Linked DNA regions of Homo sapiens: regions 2, 3, 4, 5 and 6 are each linked to region 1. The links are contacts of gene promoters, found by promoter capture Hi-C in human tissues and cell types (Jung and others, 2019). All regions are on one chromosome and are shown on one strand. Each heading gives the region's core, a stretch centred on a gene start or on the middle of the fragment in contact. The rest is flanking DNA. Distances are from core to core; before and after follow the strand shown. Region 1 holds the start of LCNL1 (lipocalin like 1). Region 2 holds the start of TMEM203 (transmembrane protein 203). Region 3 holds the start of LOC107987143 (a long non-coding RNA gene). Region 4 holds the start of ANAPC2 (anaphase promoting complex subunit 2). Region 5 overlaps GRIN1 (glutamate ionotropic receptor NMDA type subunit 1). Region 6 holds the start of GRIN1 (glutamate ionotropic receptor NMDA type subunit 1).

What was found. Contacts are between HindIII fragments. The study calls those that stand out against the background at their distance.
Region 2: the fragment with the promoter of TMEM203 here is called in contact with the fragment with the promoter of LCNL1 in region 1 in 3 of the 25 tissues and cell types used here (dorsolateral prefrontal cortex, lymphoblastoid cells and mesenchymal stem cells).
Region 3: a contact is called between a fragment that was not itself captured here and the fragment with the promoter of LCNL1 in region 1, in 3 of the 25 tissues and cell types used here (lymphoblastoid cells, mesenchymal stem cells and spleen).
Region 4: the fragment with the promoter of ANAPC2 here is called in contact with the fragment with the promoter of LCNL1 in region 1 in 3 of the 25 tissues and cell types used here (dorsolateral prefrontal cortex, lymphoblastoid cells and spleen).
Region 5: a contact is called between a fragment that was not itself captured here and the fragment with the promoter of LCNL1 in region 1, in 1 of the 25 tissues and cell types used here (spleen).
Region 6: a contact is called between the fragment with the promoter of GRIN1 here and the fragment with the promoter of LCNL1 in region 1, in 1 of the 25 tissues and cell types used here (spleen).

What each region holds. Positions count from the first base shown.
Region 1 is chr9:136,981,714-136,984,262 of GRCh38, reverse strand. LCNL1 (lipocalin like 1) reads right to left here and starts at 1,270. Exons shown (of 3, transcript NM_207510.4): 1 at 555-1,270. The coding sequence starts at 676. PTGDS (prostaglandin D2 synthase) reads right to left here. Exons shown (of 7, transcript NM_000954.6): 7 at 2,521-2,549. The HindIII fragment of the contact is 9,863 bases long and covers 1-2,549 here.
Region 2 is chr9:137,204,364-137,206,912 of GRCh38, reverse strand. TMEM203 (transmembrane protein 203) reads left to right here and starts at 1,265. Exons shown (of 1, transcript NM_053045.2): 1 at 1,265-2,549. The coding sequence starts at 1,499. The coding sequence ends at 1,909. NDOR1 (NADPH dependent diflavin oxidoreductase 1) reads right to left here and starts at 1,213. Exons shown (of 14, transcript NM_014434.4): 1 at 1,001-1,213; 2 at 604-681. The coding sequence starts at 1,135. RefSeq lists a silencer at 1,250-1,509. The HindIII fragment of the contact is 14,043 bases long and covers 1-2,549 here.
Region 3 is chr9:136,769,893-136,772,441 of GRCh38, reverse strand. It overlaps LOC107987143 (a long non-coding RNA gene), which reads left to right and starts at 2,290. Exons shown (of 3, transcript XR_001746981.2): 1 at 2,290-2,360. RefSeq lists an enhancer at 1,138-1,638. The HindIII fragment of the contact is 6,223 bases long and covers 1-2,549 here.
Region 4 is chr9:137,187,285-137,189,833 of GRCh38, reverse strand. ANAPC2 (anaphase promoting complex subunit 2) reads left to right here and starts at 1,274. Exons shown (of 13, transcript NM_013366.4): 1 at 1,274-1,418; 2 at 1,731-2,353. The coding sequence starts at 1,302. SSNA1 (SS nuclear autoantigen 1) reads right to left here and starts at 1,158. Exons shown (of 3, transcript NM_003731.3): 1 at 1,056-1,158; 2 at 569-768; 3 at 1-27. The coding sequence starts at 1,107. RefSeq lists a silencer at 767-1,116 and an enhancer at 1,147-1,366. The HindIII fragment of the contact is 18,290 bases long and covers 1-2,549 here.
Region 5 is chr9:137,164,824-137,167,372 of GRCh38, reverse strand. GRIN1 (glutamate ionotropic receptor NMDA type subunit 1) reads right to left here. Exons shown (of 20, transcript NM_007327.4): 19 at 2,077-2,187. Among named protein-coding and RNA genes, the nearest start is that of MIR3621, 3.2 kb to the left of the region's middle. The HindIII fragment of the contact is 3,110 bases long and covers 1-2,549 here.
Region 6 is chr9:137,137,869-137,140,417 of GRCh38, reverse strand. It overlaps GRIN1 (glutamate ionotropic receptor NMDA type subunit 1), which reads right to left and starts at 1,264. Exons shown (of 20, transcript NM_007327.4): 1 at 674-1,264. The coding sequence starts at 931. RefSeq lists a silencer at 1,427-1,721. The HindIII fragment of the contact is 23,460 bases long and covers 1-2,549 here.

The sequences.
Region 1 (2,549 bases), core at 21-2,520:
CCCCCTTCCAGACACAGACACACAGAAGACACACACATACACACATGCACACACACGGAGATAGACACAGACACAGACACACTGACAGACACACACATAGACACGCACACAAGACACACACAGAGATAGACACACACAGCCAGACACAGATACACAGACACACAGACACACAGACGCATACAGTGATACACACATACACACTCAGAGGTACACATCTACAAAGACACACATGCATACACACGCACACACAGACACACACACATGCAGAAATAGACACACATACACAGAGACACAGCCACATACAGTGATACACACACAGACACAGACATGCAGACACTTTTCTCAACACCAGGCCTCAGGCAGTGCTTCCTCCAGGGCCTGGGTCCCTCTGGACTCCGTGTGGCTGCCATCTGGGGCTCTGCCGCACAGAGCCGTCGAGGACCCGTGGTCTGACCTCAATGTGCTGGGGACACCATGGTCCCTCTGGACCTTCATGTGGCCTCATGCTGGCCATCCTCTGAGGCTGAGTCTGATGGGCTCGTGTGGTCACTTACGTGGGGTATCCAAACTTGAGGGCCAGGTCACCATTCCCCAAGGGGGTCACTAAGACCACAGCCATCTTCATGGTGTCCTTGGAGTCCAGGAAGTCCTGGTCATCTGACACCACCCCGACCATGTACCAGGTGCCCTGGAACTGCAGGGCAAGTGCAGGGAAGGCTGGGAGGCCGCCCCTGTGCCCTGGGCCTGAGCCCACCACATTCTGCCCCGACACAGCTGCTTCCTGGCCACGGCAGGGGCTGCTGTACACATCTCGACCCCGATGCAGAACTGAGGGAGGGGGGCCTCAGTACATGAGCAACTGGCCCCCACCAGCCCAGCACCGGCCTGTCTGCAGCTGGCACCCAGGGGGTACGGCTGGATGGGTGGGGCTGTGGCAAGGTCACAGGTCTTTGTGGGGTGGGTGGGGGACAGTGAGGCACAGGCAACCAACTTGTCCCTATTTTGGGCCCTGGGGATTGTTGGGGGATGCAACTGAAAAGGTAGGATGGAGGCTGCAGTCTTCCCCAGCCAACCCCTACTCCAGTCAGACGGAGCGGGTGAGGTGGGGGTTTCCCCTGCCCCTAGCCCTGCTGAGCCTGGATCAAAGAGGGTGTGGACAGGGACCCGGGGTGCAGCACCAAAGCCGGGAGGACTCATTGGAGATGAGGAGGAAACAGGGCTGGGCACACCTGGCTGGCATCAAAGTTGGCCTGGATGGGGACCTGGGCCTGGCCTGGGGATGCCCAGAGCAGGGCAAGGAGGGAACTGATCAGCAGAGCCCGAAGCATCATGCAGCAAGATGGCATCTCCTCCGGACACGGGAGCAGGGCAGAGCTGAGGTGGCTCCTCTGTAGGCTTTACGCCCCTGAGGTGCCCTGGGGCGGCTGGCCTGGGACTGCACCCACTGTGACAGGCTTCTGATCAAGTTGCACCCTGCAGCGCTCTGGCCTGGCTCCCTCCACCCAACCCCAGCCATCCGTTGCCTTTCCTCCGGGGTGGGGCCGGATGCCTGGCAGCTGAGGGTAGTTCTGACGGGCCTCTGGGCTAGGGGGCCTGCAGCTCACCCATCCTGCCTCTTCGGCCTTCTGCAGCCCCTCTGGGATGTTGGAATCCCCCCTACCTTGAGCTCAGGCACAGCCCTAAGCCCCCTTCTCCGGGAAGGCCACCCAGAAGCTCACCCTCACCTCCGAGCCTCAAAATGCTTGGTGCCTCTGCAGGGTCTGCCTCGGGGGGGCCTGGTGGGCAGGTCACAGTGAGTCCTGCACATTGTGTACCTGAGAATGGCTGCCTGGGTGGGAATCTGGAAGGGAGCAGGGTTGGGCAGGGCACTGGCCGGGCATGGTGTGGCCGTGGTGCCAGGGCTCTGGTGAGTGGACAAGGCTGTGATCTGGAGGCCCAGGTCAGAGGGCAGGGGGCGCACAGGGAGCCAGAAGGGATATGGGGTAGCCTGTCCCCAGCCCACTCTGTCAGTCTGTCCTGATGCGGGGTGGAGACACTCTGGCATGTTTCAAACAAATGTTTCTTTTTGTCCCCTGAAACCCTTATCTCTGCCCAATCTCAGTGCGTTAATCCCACACCTCAAGATACCCAACAGGTCCAAAGCTCCTCTGGGGCCTCGAGCCTCAGGCCTTTACTGCTGAGGGGGTGACAGGGTGGCGTTGGGGGTGCAGGGCACCTGCCTAAGGGATTAGCTGAGTCACTGACCCCCAGCTCAGCACCGGCCTGGTGGCAGTGGCAGCTGAGGGGGTATGGCTCGACGTGTGGGGCTGTGGGGCAGGGGCACACGACTGTGTGGGGTGGGTGGGAGACAGTGAGGGACACCCCCTCCTAGCTGTCCTGACTCAAGACCCCACTGGGAGCAAACACTAGAGGGCCTGTTCCTTTGTTGACGTCAGGCTGAGATTTTAGAGGGGGAGGTCCGGGTGGCCAGGGCCAGGCCCAGGACGGGTGATGACAGCGCAGACAGCCAGGAGCCAGCTCTACTGACTTGCTTCCGGAGTTTATTGTGC
Region 2 (2,549 bases), core at 16-2,515, 220 kb before region 1:
TGACTAGCCCTCACGCATCCTTCCGTGACTCAGCTTACACTCTTTTCTTCCAGAAACCTCTGCCTGGGCCCCAAGGTTGGGTGAGATAAGGCTCGATGCCCCTTATCAGTGCTCCTGTGACATATGCTACTTTCCCCAGCAGCAGGTGTTTGCTGGCACTGTCATTGCCCGTTAGCTGCTTCTGCTACAGTGTGAACTCTGCCAGGATGGAAATATGGCTGCTGGGTTCACAGCTGGATCCCCAGCACCAGACTGTGCCAAGAATAGAATATGTGCTTAAAAGATGGTCAGAGAATTCAGCAACGTTCCCTGAGGGTCATACAGTCTAGAAATACACACAAGACCCAGACTAGATGCACATATAGATAGCCCTGGAAAAATAAGAAAGGTTAAAACGGATAATAAGGCTATTTGGTGGCTACGACGAGTTTATTAGAGAGGGCAACCGGAGCCCCCAGCCCCACTCACGGACGTTCTCTCAAATCCACCTCTGAAGGTGCATGAGATAAAGGAGAGCTATTTACTGCACCTAGACGCCAGGCAATGAAAACGGGGTGAGGGTCGAGGGCAGGGATCTGAGGAGCCACATCAGGCCAGCCTTACCTTCATGTTGTCAGGGGGGTCTCCTTGGCCTGTAGTTGCACAAACAAATATCACCAGGGGCTCGTTAATCAGATTCACCTCAACAAAAAGACACACACACGTAAGACCTCCGGCTGTAAGGACCGGGCGTCCTTCCCAAAACTTGACCCCCTTCTCCTTTACTCAGGCTGACAGGGCAGAGGGATTTATGTGAGCAGCCAGACCGTCTTCTCTTTCAGGTTCCAACCTCCTCCAGGTGCTAAACTGAACTCCCCTTCCCAAACCTCCTTCCCTAAATCCGCCATAAGGGAAAGACCCGCTCTCAGAGAAAATGCGACGCCTTTTGGGTCGATGACCCCGCGAGGCGGGCACGCCAGGCCTGCTCGTCCCCCACGCCGAGGCCCTAGCGAGCCCTCACCACCGGGTAGGAGTCCAGGGCCTGCACCCGGCAGCCAAGCCGCCGGCGCCGGGCCTCGCGACCCAGTCTCTCCGACACATCCTGAGCCGTGCCTGTCTGGCTGCCGAAGAGCACCAGAAGCTGCGGGCTCGGCATCGGGGTGCGCCCGGTGGTCTGGTCTGAGACTAAAAACTAGAAGGCAGTTCCCGCCGGCCGGGTTGCAGGGACCGCTCCGCCTTCCGCCTTCCGCCGTCGACCGGAAGTGACGCACTAGGGACGCGCCCTGTGGGGGCATGGCGTCCGATCGAGGCGGGCGTTCACGGGCGGCCAGGGTTGAGTCCCGGGTCGGGGCCGGGGGATTGCCGGCGCATCAGGGCCGAGGGCTGGGGCTGGCGGGGCCGCTCGCTGCCTCTCGCTCGCAGCAGCGGCGGCAGGCGCGGGCGAGGGCCACGGGGAGAGGAGACGCAGCCCCGCGGGTGGCACGCTCGGCCGGGCCCCGGCCCGCGCTCAACGGGCGCGATGCTCTTCTCGCTCCGGGAGCTGGTGCAGTGGCTAGGCTTCGCCACCTTCGAGATCTTCGTGCACCTGCTGGCCCTGTTGGTGTTCTCTGTGCTGCTGGCACTGCGTGTGGATGGCCTGGTCCCGGGCCTCTCCTGGTGGAACGTGTTCGTGCCTTTCTTCGCCGCTGACGGGCTCAGCACCTACTTCACCACCATCGTGTCCGTGCGCCTCTTCCAGGATGGAGAGAAGCGGCTGGCGGTGCTCCGCCTTTTCTGGGTACTTACGGTCCTGAGTCTCAAGTTCGTCTTCGAGATGCTGTTGTGCCAGAAGCTGGCGGAGCAGACTCGGGAGCTCTGGTTCGGCCTCATTACGTCCCCGCTCTTCATTCTCCTGCAGCTGCTCATGATCCGCGCCTGTCGGGTCAACTAGCCTCACCGAGGTGCCGGAGAGGGAGCGCTGGACAACTAGAATGTTGACCTCGAGCCGAGGCCCTACTTGCAGCGCACCGGAGGAGAGGCTCTCTAGTCTGAAGGCACCGCCGGCTTGCGCCGAGCTGAGTGCCGGGTTTCCCTATTCCAATCCTGTTTGAAATGGTTTCTTCAGCAGGGCTTAAAAGAGCAGCCTTCATCCTGAAAATGTATTTCCTTTTGTTTAATGCTTTGAGTAGATAATCCTGAATTGAGGTCATGAGGAGGCCCCCCAGGCCAGACAGTCCTGAACCCCTCTGACACTTGGAAACTGAATATAAGTAAAATGTCCAGGTGGACTCTGAGTATTTCCTGTGGATCCTGGGAAAGTACTGTTGCACAAAGGCTGCAAAGCTGGACTCAGGAATGTCCTCCAACCAGCAGCGCTGACCTAAGAGCTCCCTGTGCCGTCTATCCAGACCAGACTTCGGTAGATGCCTTTGTTAGATCTATCACATGTAAACGAGCTTGTATCTCCTTCCCTGTGCCACGAGAGAGATTGGCTTTTTATTCCAGTCTAGGCAGAGACAGAAGAATGTTGAATAAGAGCACGATTAGAGTCCTGTCTGGTTATCTGTTGCCCAAGAAAAGAACTCTGCTGT
Region 3 (2,549 bases), core at 14-2,513, 210 kb after region 1:
ATCACTTCTTGATCCTAACCACCTTCTCTTTCTCTGCCCTTAACATAAAAAGAGCTTGAAATTTGTACCCACCTGAGATGGCACATTAGGACTCTAGTCCACCATCTTCTTGGTTTGCTGGCTGTCTGAATAAATTGCTTTCTTCCCACCAACTCCTGTCTCTTGAGTTTTGGCTTTTGAGCAGCTGAATGTGTGTTCGGTTACAAAAGCAGTCACAAGGTGCCCCTCCCGCCAAGATTTAAGGGGTGGAGAATTAAACTGTCACTTTGAAGAAGAGAGTTCAGGACTGCCCCTTCCACCCAAGACAGCAAACGGGCCAGTCCTTGAGCAGGTAGATGGGGAGGGGAGGTGGCAGAGCAGCCTGAGAGCTACAGCAGAGTGCTGGTGGGGAGGACCATGGGAGGGACCACAGACTCAAGAACTGTGTTGAGAAGGATTTCCAGGAGGCTGGGAATGGGCCTGTCTTCCCTGAAATTAGTATTTAGAGAGAATCTGGAAGAAAACCATGCTCTCAGAGTTAGGCTTTGGTGTGGAAATCAAACCTTTGCCTGCTACACTGTTTTCTTTTTTTTTTTTCTTTTTTCTTTTTTTTTGACACAGAGTCTTGCTCTGTCACCCAGGCTGGAGAGTGCAGTTGGCACTATCTTGGCTCACTGCAACCTCCGCCGCCTGGGTTCAAGTGATTCTCTTGCCTCAGCCTCCCCAGTAGCTGGGATTACAGGTGCCCACTACTATGTCCAGCTAATTTTTTTATATGTTTTTAGTAGAGACGAGGTTTCACCATGTTGGTCAGGCTGGTCTCGAACTCCTGATCCCAAAGTGCTGGGATTACAGGCGTAAGCCACCACGCCTGGCTAATTTTTTTGTATCTTTTTAGTAGAGACGGGGTTTCTCCATGTTGGTCAGGCTGGTCTCGACCTCCTGACCTCAGGTGATCTGCCCACCTTGGCCTCCCAAAGTGCTGGGATTACAGGCGTCAGCCACTGTGCCCTTCCTGTTACATTGTTTTCTGGATGGTGGGAGACGGGAATATGCAAATGGACAATGAGCAGACCCTACCAGGACAGAGCTCTGATTCCAGCAGCCAGCGGGAAGCCCACAGCAAGCCCGGAGCAATGGCCCCCGTGCCCAGGACGTGGGTAGTAACTGGCAGCTGTCTTTCATTTTGACCCAGCTTCCGACAGGGCCCACCTGGAGTCAGGCAAACATGCTCCCGGAAAGTCCTGTTGGACGCCCTGCGCCTTCCCATTCTCTCATTCTTGGGGTCCTGATCCAGACGCTAAGAGAGGGGTTCTTGGACCTTGTGCAAGAAAGAAGTTGGGGCAAGTCCACAAAGTGAAAGCAAGTTTATTAAGAAAGTAAAGAAATAAGCTGAGCACGGTGACTCACACCTGTCATCTCAGCACTTTGGGAGGCCGAGGCAGGCGGATCACTTAAGGTCAGGAGTTCGAGATCAGCCTGGGCAACATGGTGAAACACCGTCTCTACTAAAAATACAAAAATTAGCCAGGTGGCACGCGCCTGTAATCCCAGCTACTCGGGAGGCTGAGGCAGGAGAATCCCTTGAACCCGGGAGGCGGAGGTTGCAGTGAGCCGAGATCGCACCACTGCACTCCAGCCTGGGTGACAGAGTGAGACTCTGTCTCCAGAAAAATTTAAAAAATAAATAAAGATAAAAAAGTTTATAGATGATGATTCAGGGAGAATTCGTGACTTGGTAATGATTTTATTTGGAGGATTATCACCAGAATAAAACGTTGACGATCTCTTTTTCCAATCCTGGCTCAGCGCTGACACACTTTCAGGAGGGACGCTGAGGGGTAGCTCCAACCCAAAGAAACGATGTACCCAGAGGCAGGCGGGGTGCGGGCAGGCGGGGTGCGGGGCAGGCGGGGTGCGGGCAGGCGGGGTGCGGGCAGGCGGGGTGAGGGGCAGGCGGGGTGCGGGGCAGGCGGGGTGCGGGCAGGCGGGGTGCGGGGCAGGCGGGGTGCGGGGCAGGCGGGGTGCGGGCAGGCGGGGTGAGGGGCAGGCGGGGTGCGGGGCAGGCGGGGTGCGGGCAGGCGGGGTGCGGGGCAGGCGGGGTGCGGGCAGGCGGGGTGCGGGCAGGCGGGGTGCGGGGCAGGCGGGGTGCGGGCAGGCGGGGTGCGGGCAGGCGGGGTGCGGGGCAGGCGGGGTGAGGGGCAGGCGGGGTGCGGGGCAGGCGGGGTGAGGGGCAGGCGGGGTGCGGGGCAGGCGGGGTGAGGGGCAGGCGGGGTGCGGGCAGGCGGGGCCCAGAGCGCAGAGCAGAGCAGACTGCCCCCTGGTGGAAGAATGGAGGGACGCCACCAGCACGCGGAGGGGAGCCATGCAGATGAGGCTGCGTGAGTGAGGAGGCTGCCCAGGGAAGGGGAGGGGGCTCGGGGCCCCCTGGTGTTGTCGTGCAGGGCAGACCCCCTCAGCAGGGCAAAGAGAGAGAGGAAGGTTTTTCCTCCTCCTCTGAGGGCAGAGGTCTCGGGTTAGGAAGTGCTATTAGGGGCAGGGTGCAGTGGCGGGGGCCTGGGACACTCGGG
Region 4 (2,549 bases), core at 25-2,524, 210 kb before region 1:
GAGCAAAGTCTGGGAGCTCTCCAGGATCTGGGGCCAGAGAAGTGAGAAGGTTGTTAATGTTCACCTGTTGGTAAGGTCCTAAGCCCCAGCTGTCCTCACACTCAGGTGCTGGGACCTGGCTGGGGGTGCTGTAGCCAAGGGATCCTGTGTGGGGGAAGGCGGAAGCCCAAGGGGACTGGCAGACGGGGTGGCAGGGCCCTCTTCCCTCCGGAATCTGACCCAAAACACTTCCTCTCCACCCTCAAAGCCAGGCTGGGTTAGCACTGGCCCGTGCTGGGTGCTCTGCCCAAGACCTGGCTCTTCACACTGAGCAGAAATAACCACATGGCTAGCGAGAACCGGATAAAGACCAGGACCCAGGATGCCCCAGGCCCCACAGACAGCCCCACAGTCACTCCCACAGCAGCCTGGGTTCCTCAATGGGCCTGGCCACGCTGCCCCTGCCCGAAATGCCAGCGAGGCACAGACTGCCCACAGCCGGGAGCCCCAGCCGGTCCTGACGCCTTGCCGTGGCAACACCCCTGCCGTGCCTATCCCCTGATGCTCGGCCTGGCCTCCCGAGCTCCACCTTGAGGTAGGCGGCCTCCGTCTCCGCGATGGTCCGGTCGAACTCGTTGCGAGAGGCAATCTTGCGTGCCAGGTTCTCGTTGACGCGGGCCAGCTTCTCTGTCAGCTGCCTCACCTCATTCTGCAGCCGCTGCTTCTCGTCCTCCTCCTCCTGGATCTGCCGGCACAGCTCCTCCCGCTTCTGGCACAGCTCCTCTATGCCTGGGGGCCGGGAGGGGCGGCGCTGTGGGCCCAGGGCAGGAGCGCGGCGGCGGAGGGCGGGCCTCCTTCCACCCGAGGAAGCCAGAGTCAGGCACCACCCCCGAGCGCCCGGCGCGGGGCCTGCGAGCCAGCGAGGGCTCGGGCCACGGACACCCGGCCTCCGGCACGGAGGGCTCTGCTCAGCCGCGCGATGCCCGCAGCGAGGCGGGTCCAGGGGCACCCCGCTGCGAGCCGGGAACCCGGCCCTGCGGCCCTCCCGACCTCCCCGTCCCGGCTGCGCCGCTCACACTTGACCAGCTCGTTGTTGTAGTTCTGCAGCGCCGCGCCCTGCTGGGTCATGGTCAACGCCGCCCGGGGCCCCACCACCCCAACCGCCGCGGAAGCAGCGCTGTCCGCGCCTGCGCACGACTCCCCCACGGCGCGCCGAACTAGCGCGTCATCGCTGAGCGCCTTGTGCGCGTCATGGCTGCGCGTGCAGACGTGCGTCATCGCCGCGCGCCGCGCCGAGCGAATCTCGGAGTCGGTGGGTGCAGATGGCGGCGGCAGTTGTGGTGGCGGAGGGGGACAGCGACTCCCGGCCCGGACAGGAGTTGTTAGTGGCCTGGAACACCGTGAGCACCGGCCTGGTGCCGCCGGCTGCGCTGGGGCTGGTGAGGCCTGGGAAGAGAGGGGCGGCCCCGCGCGGAGTTTCCGGGACCGTACGCGCTTTGGGGCCGCTACCCTCGGGTTCATACGGCTCTGTCCATCATCCGCCTCTGTCCTGTCCTGCCATTTTCCACCACCTTTCCGTTTCGTTTCGTTCAGCTCCGCTGACAGCCCTTCCATAGCTTCGGCCCAACGTCCGGGCAGCACGGACAGGGGGCAGCGGAGTTTTTGCAGCCTCCCCCTCAGCTTCTTCCCTTCCCCGCCTCTCCCCACCTCTATGTTGTGTTCCCCTCGCCTCACGGTTTTCTGCACCCCAGGTGTCTTCCCGGACCAGCGGTGCAGTCCCGCCAAAGGAAGAGGAGCTCCGGGCGGCGGTGGAGGTTCTGAGGGGCCACGGGCTACACTCGGTCCTGGAGGAGTGGTTCGTGGAGGTGCTGCAGAACGATCTGCAGGCCAACATCTCCCCTGAGTTCTGGAATGCCATCTCCCAATGCGAGAACTCTGCGGATGAGCCCCAGTGCCTTTTGCTACTCCTTGACGCTTTTGGCCTGCTGGAGAGCCGCCTGGATCCCTACCTGCGTAGCCTAGAGCTGCTGGAGAAATGGACTCGCCTGGGCTTGCTGATGGGCACTGGTGCTCAGGGGCTGCGAGAAGAAGTCCACACTATGTTGCGCGGAGTCTTGTTCTTTAGCACCCCCAGAACCTTCCAAGAGATGATCCAGCGTCTGTATGGGTGCTTCTTGAGAGTCTATATGCAGAGTAAGAGGAAGGGGGAAGGGGGCACAGACCCGGAACTGGAAGGGGAGCTGGACAGCCGGTATGCCCGTCGCCGGTACTACCGGCTCCTGCAGAGCCCGCTGTGTGCAGGGTGCAGCAGTGACAAGCAACAGTGCTGGTGTCGCCAGGCTCTGGAGCAGTTCCATCAGCTCAGCCAGGTCTTGTGAGTAGTCTGTCCCGATGGCCATGCCCTTGCTCCTTCTGGTTCCCCGCTGCTCCCCTGGGTCCAGCTGGCCTCAGCAGAAAGCTGGTGAGCCGTCCTGATAACCAGGAACATGACAGAGAGAGAGTCCCAGGGATTCCTGTGCAGCGTGTCCTGGACACAGGTGTCTCTCTTCTGTCACTCACCTTCAGTCCCA
Region 5 (2,549 bases), core at 29-2,528, 180 kb before region 1:
GCCGGCCGCCAGGGACCCCAGCCCTCAGCGCCCAGTGCCGCCCTGGCCCGGACCGGCCACAGGACAGGGGCAGGGGATCTCCGCAGCCGGACTGACCCCACCCTACCCAAAGGAGCCCCCCACCCACGCCTCCCTCTGAATAAGCTCGCAGCCCCAGAGACCAGGTGGGAGCTGGGCTGCCCTCCCCTGCCCAGACCCCCAGCTGGCAGTGCCCCCCACAGTTCAGCCTTGCAGGGCGGGGCCAGCCCCAGATGCCACGTGATGCCAGAACTGGCCCCAGAGGACGGTCCCTGGTGCCCAGAGAGGCTCGGGTGAGGGTTCCGCTGGGAACATGTCCCTGGGAGGGCACCATGAGGGTCTCTGAGCTGCACCTGGCCTCGCTCCAGGCAGGGCCCTGGGACCCAGTGTCACCCTCTGAAAGTGGCCCATCACCTGCACGACATTTGTGCTTGCCCCCCGTGGCTGCCTGCCCCAAATCGCTGTTTCTCCTGTCTGCCTGGACACCCCCTCTTCCCCAGCCTGCCCAGCCCACGATCCCTGCGCTATTCCCCCTCCCTGTTCCCTGCGGGACTCCTGGCTCAGACTTTGCAGCATCAGCTCTGCCCGCTTTCCGCAGCAGAGGTGGCTCCAGGAATGGTGCTTCCACCTGCTCCTTGAGCCTCCAGTGGCCCCCAGGCCTACAGGCTCTCACTGTCCACCCATCCTGCATGCCAAGTCCCTTCCCCAGGAAGCTGAGCAGCCAGGCCTCATGGGTCCCTCTTGGGGCACCCTGGTGGCTTCATCTCGGGATTTGGCTTGCTTGATGCCAAGTCCTGTCTGTGCCCTGGAGGTCTGCCCCGCTTCCAGTGCACTGAGGGGCAGGTGGCTGCAAATCGCACTTCCTCCCCCGGGCGTAAGCTTCTCTCTGGTGATGCTGCTTATGGGCTGGGGGCTTCCTGTGGGCCAGACTGGTCCCTGGACTGCAGGGTGGCCACGGGGCTGAGGTCTCCGCTGCCTCTCTGGGCAGCCCCTCCCCACCATGGTGCCTGGGCCTGGGGTGCCTCTAGCAAGGCTGGGTTCGCTCTGGGGGCCTCTGGTCCGAGTGTGCATATCCGCTACAGGGACAAGCTGCCCCGAGCAGGAGGTGGGGGATTCTGGGCTCCAAAGGGCAGAAGGCCTGGCTCTTTGGGGTGGGCCTTGTGGGGTTGCTGGGGTCAGGAGCTGAGGTGGTCGTTTCCCTTCCAGAGGCCTCCCTGTCTGGGAACCTCAGTGTCGTCCTGGGCTCTGCAGGCCAGGGCTTGTGGGGCCGCCCCTACCCATTCTCAGACCCTCTGGGAGCTGCCGCCACACCTCCTGCAGGGCCCCCGCTCAGCCTGGGGTGGGAGCCACCCCTTTTGGTCCCACCCCACTCCCTGCCTGACAGTCCCCTGTGGCCGGGGCCAGTTCCAACTCCAGGCCCCAGCCGTCCACCCAGACGGACCCAGGCCCGGCCCCCAGCCCCCGGCCCACACAGAGACCACATGAAGATGCAACACGCATGGCTCTGGTGAGACAGGTGAGACAGGTGTCTGGGGGGCGGGGCCAGTGGCCAGACAGACGGACGGGATGGGACATCACAGCCACCCCCTCCAGGGCCGTCGCAGGGGCGAAGTGAGGGCGGCGGGCCCCTCTGGGAGAGGCGAGAGAAACGGGGACATAACAGAGAAGTGGTGTGGCCTCCCGGCAGCTGAGGAGTCCAGGATGGGGCCACGCTGGGCTCCCAGGGCCCCAGACCTGGCCCCGAGAGGTGGTGTGGCTGACTGACTGACCAACGAGATGACAGGCTTCAAGATGGCGTGTGGGTCATGGCAGGGGAGGTGGGCGGGCAGACTAACGGAGACACACGGGGAAAGCCGAGGACCCAGGAGGGCCGGGGAGAAAGGTCCAGAGAGTGAGAGAGAGCAGCATGGGCGGGCTGGGCAGAGCGGCCGCCACAGGGAGACAGGGGCAGAGTGGGCCACAGGAGCCCAGGGTCCGGGGCGGGGTGATGGGGCGGGAGACACACGCAGGGCAGGGCAGGTGGAGTCGGACGCGGGACTGGGGTGCTCTCCCCCTTACCGTGTCTTTGGAGGACCTACGCCTCTTGAAGCTGGAAGCCAGGGTGGAGGTGATAGCCCTAAATGTGGCTTTCTTTTTAGGGTCAGGCTCTGCTCTACCACTCTTTCTATCCTAAAATGAATATGTATAAGTGATTAGATGGCTAGGGTGGTGGCCACACCTGCCCTCGCCTGCTCCTGCATGGGCCGCTGCCCAGCCTGGCCGGCCACTTGGGCCCTCGCTCCTGCCTGCCTCCCTGTGCTGGACAGACGGGCCGACAGCGGACGTTCGAGGGTGGCCTCTTCTCCTGCCCGGGGTCTCGGGCCTGACCTTGCTCGTGCTGGGGCTGGGCTTGGGGGCTCTCGGCTGGCTCTTCCTGGGAGGTCCGCCTGGCTCCCTGGCTCCTGGGTGGCCCTGGCTTACAGGCGTCCCGAGGAGGAGGAGTCCTCTGAGGACTGGAGGAGTTGCCCCTCAGGCCACACCAGCTGTCTGCG
Region 6 (2,549 bases), core at 15-2,514, 160 kb before region 1:
ACATAAAGGGCTGCATTGCAGATCCTTGCAGCCTCATTGGAATTCAGCAGGCGCTCGGCCCAGGGGCGGACAGCTCCGACAGGCAAAATCCCAGGAGCCACGTCCTCCCCCGCAGCGCTGGCTGCCGACAGCTCCCATGCCCTGATGCCTCTCGCGTGTGCACCCCCACTCCCACCCCCACAAAGCGTCCTGCCGTGGCACCTGAGCCATTTCTCTTCCCAGGCGGACCCATCGGTAGGGGGAAGGGACGAAAGAAAGGGCAGGAGAACCTGGAAGCAGAAACAAAGATGGCCCCAGGCCCCGTCCTGTTTAAAGCTCTGCAGGGCGGGCATGTAGCTGGACAGGCGCTTCTACTCTCTTACCCGGAATGCCCACCCCCACACTGACACACTCCAGCCCCACGTCTACACACACCAGTCAGGGCCTGGAGCCCCAGGGGCCCTCTGAGGACCAGCCAAGGTGGCAGGTGACTGGTCTCAGGCCAAGATAGGGGAGCCAGCAGACCCTGGTGTTTGGTTCCTAGTGAGACGAGGCCTCCCGGAAGCAGCCAGCTGACTCTGGGGTGGTGTCTTACAGGGAGGAAGGGGGCACGGAAAGGATGGAATGAAACTGGGGGTGTGGGGTTGCAGGATGGAGGAGAGGGGAGGTGGGTGGCGGAGGTGGGGGAGGGCACCTGGCTGGAGATGAGGTCCTCGCACACCGACAGAGCCATCTGGATGGCGTTGGGCTTGTGCGTGACGGAGGTGGCATTGAGCTGAATCTTCCAGGAGCCGTGCCGCTTGTTGGCCTGGTTCACGGCCTCGCGGAACATCTGCTCGTGCTTCCGCGTGCTCAGCACCGCGCCAATGTTGACGATCTTGGGGTCGCACGCGGCACGGGCGACGGAGCAGGAGAACAGCAGGGCGAGCGTCAGCAGGCGCATGGTGCTCATGGGCTCGGGCCGCGGGCCTGGCTCTGCGCGGCGCGAACGCGGGGCCCTCGGCGCATCCCCCGCGGGGCTTCCGGGCCGTCCTGCGCTCGCCCGGCCCCGCGGGCTGCGGACGCCACGTCTCCCCCGGAGCGGCGGTCCCGGGACGTCGGCCGAGGGAAGGGGCGCTGAAGCGTGCGCGGGGGCTCGGGGCTCAGCCCCACGCGGCCGGCGCTGTCCGCGGTGCTGAAGCGGGGCCGGGCACAGCTCCGAGCGCCCGGCTTGGAAAGGGCCCGGCGGCGGCGGCGGCGGCTCCGCGGACGGCGCTGGTTCCGGTCCGGACGCTGCGGCGACTGCAGCAGCTGCAGAAACGCGAGCGGGGCCAACGTCTCCTGCCCCTCCCGCCGCCCCCGCTTCCCAACACGGAGGCGAAGGGGGCGCCTCCCGCGCCAGAGCGTGCGCCTGCGTTCGCGTGAGCGTGTGTGTCGGAGCGCGCGTGAGCCGGGGAGCGCGCGTGTGCGTGTGAGCGCGTGCCTGGAGGGGTCCTGGGACAGGGGCCTGTGCTGTCGGGGACCTGCAGGGAGCTCAGTTTGGAAACGTTAGAGGGGTCCGTGTCACCGCGTGCAGCCCGCACCCTTGCGTGCCTTTTAATAGGACCGAACGCGTCGTGCCCGCTTGTATGTGTGTGTGCGCGCAAGAGTCGTCACCCACAGTCAGCGATATTTCGGCTCCTGACTCTTGCAGACTGGAGCTCCAGAGGGGTGGGGGAGGCCCTAAGCCATGGCTCTGGGGGGCGCTCCCTTCAAGGTTCCCCTCCCCACAAGGTTCAGAAATGAGGGAGAGGCCCCATCTGCGTGGCCATGTAACTTGGGACCCCCCTCCTCGGGCTAAGAGGAATAGGGAGGGTGACCGTGGCTGCCGCATGTGCTCAGCCAGGCCTTCCGCGAGAGCCTGGAAACTGGACCCGCACTGACTGGGGCTGAGGTCGGACACCAGGAATCACTGGAGCGCCGCGAGGTGTGTTCGGGGCCAGCCGTTTCACACCCTCAGCTTCCGCTCCTCTCTCCCTCTCCAGCCCCCTCGCAATGCGCTCCCAGCGCCCCCTTTTCCAGAGCCTTACCCATCCCTCTGGTCCACACCACCCTGTCTTTGTCCCCCTCCACCCCTGGAGTGTGCGTGCCCCTCCCTAACTTGAAGGATGGCTGAAGCTCCGCCCCTGCCAGTGATGTCACCATTTCCAATAGCAACTGAGGATTCTGCAGACCTAACAGCAAACGCCCCCAATGGGACAAAACAGGGTCGTCACCACACCTCTGCTATGTGCAGCAGTGCAGCAAGGGAAGTCATGTGCCCACAGGGGTCACACTCTCTCTCCCGCTTGCCGTTCTCTCCATCAGCCGAACACTGGCACCAGGGACCCCCTGGAGCTGAGAGGAGGGGGAGGGGCTGTGGTGTTTGACAAGCTCCTCCTCTTGGCCCCTTCTCTCTCAATACAGGAAAATCTTTCCTTGGGGGATCACCTGCCCGTACCCTGCTGCAGACCCCGCCTCTCCCCGTTCGGGTTGAGGCACACGGGTCATCCGCCTCGGGGCCCTCACTCCTTCTGTTGGCTCTCAGGAGGGTGTGTGTGGGTGCTCAGGGG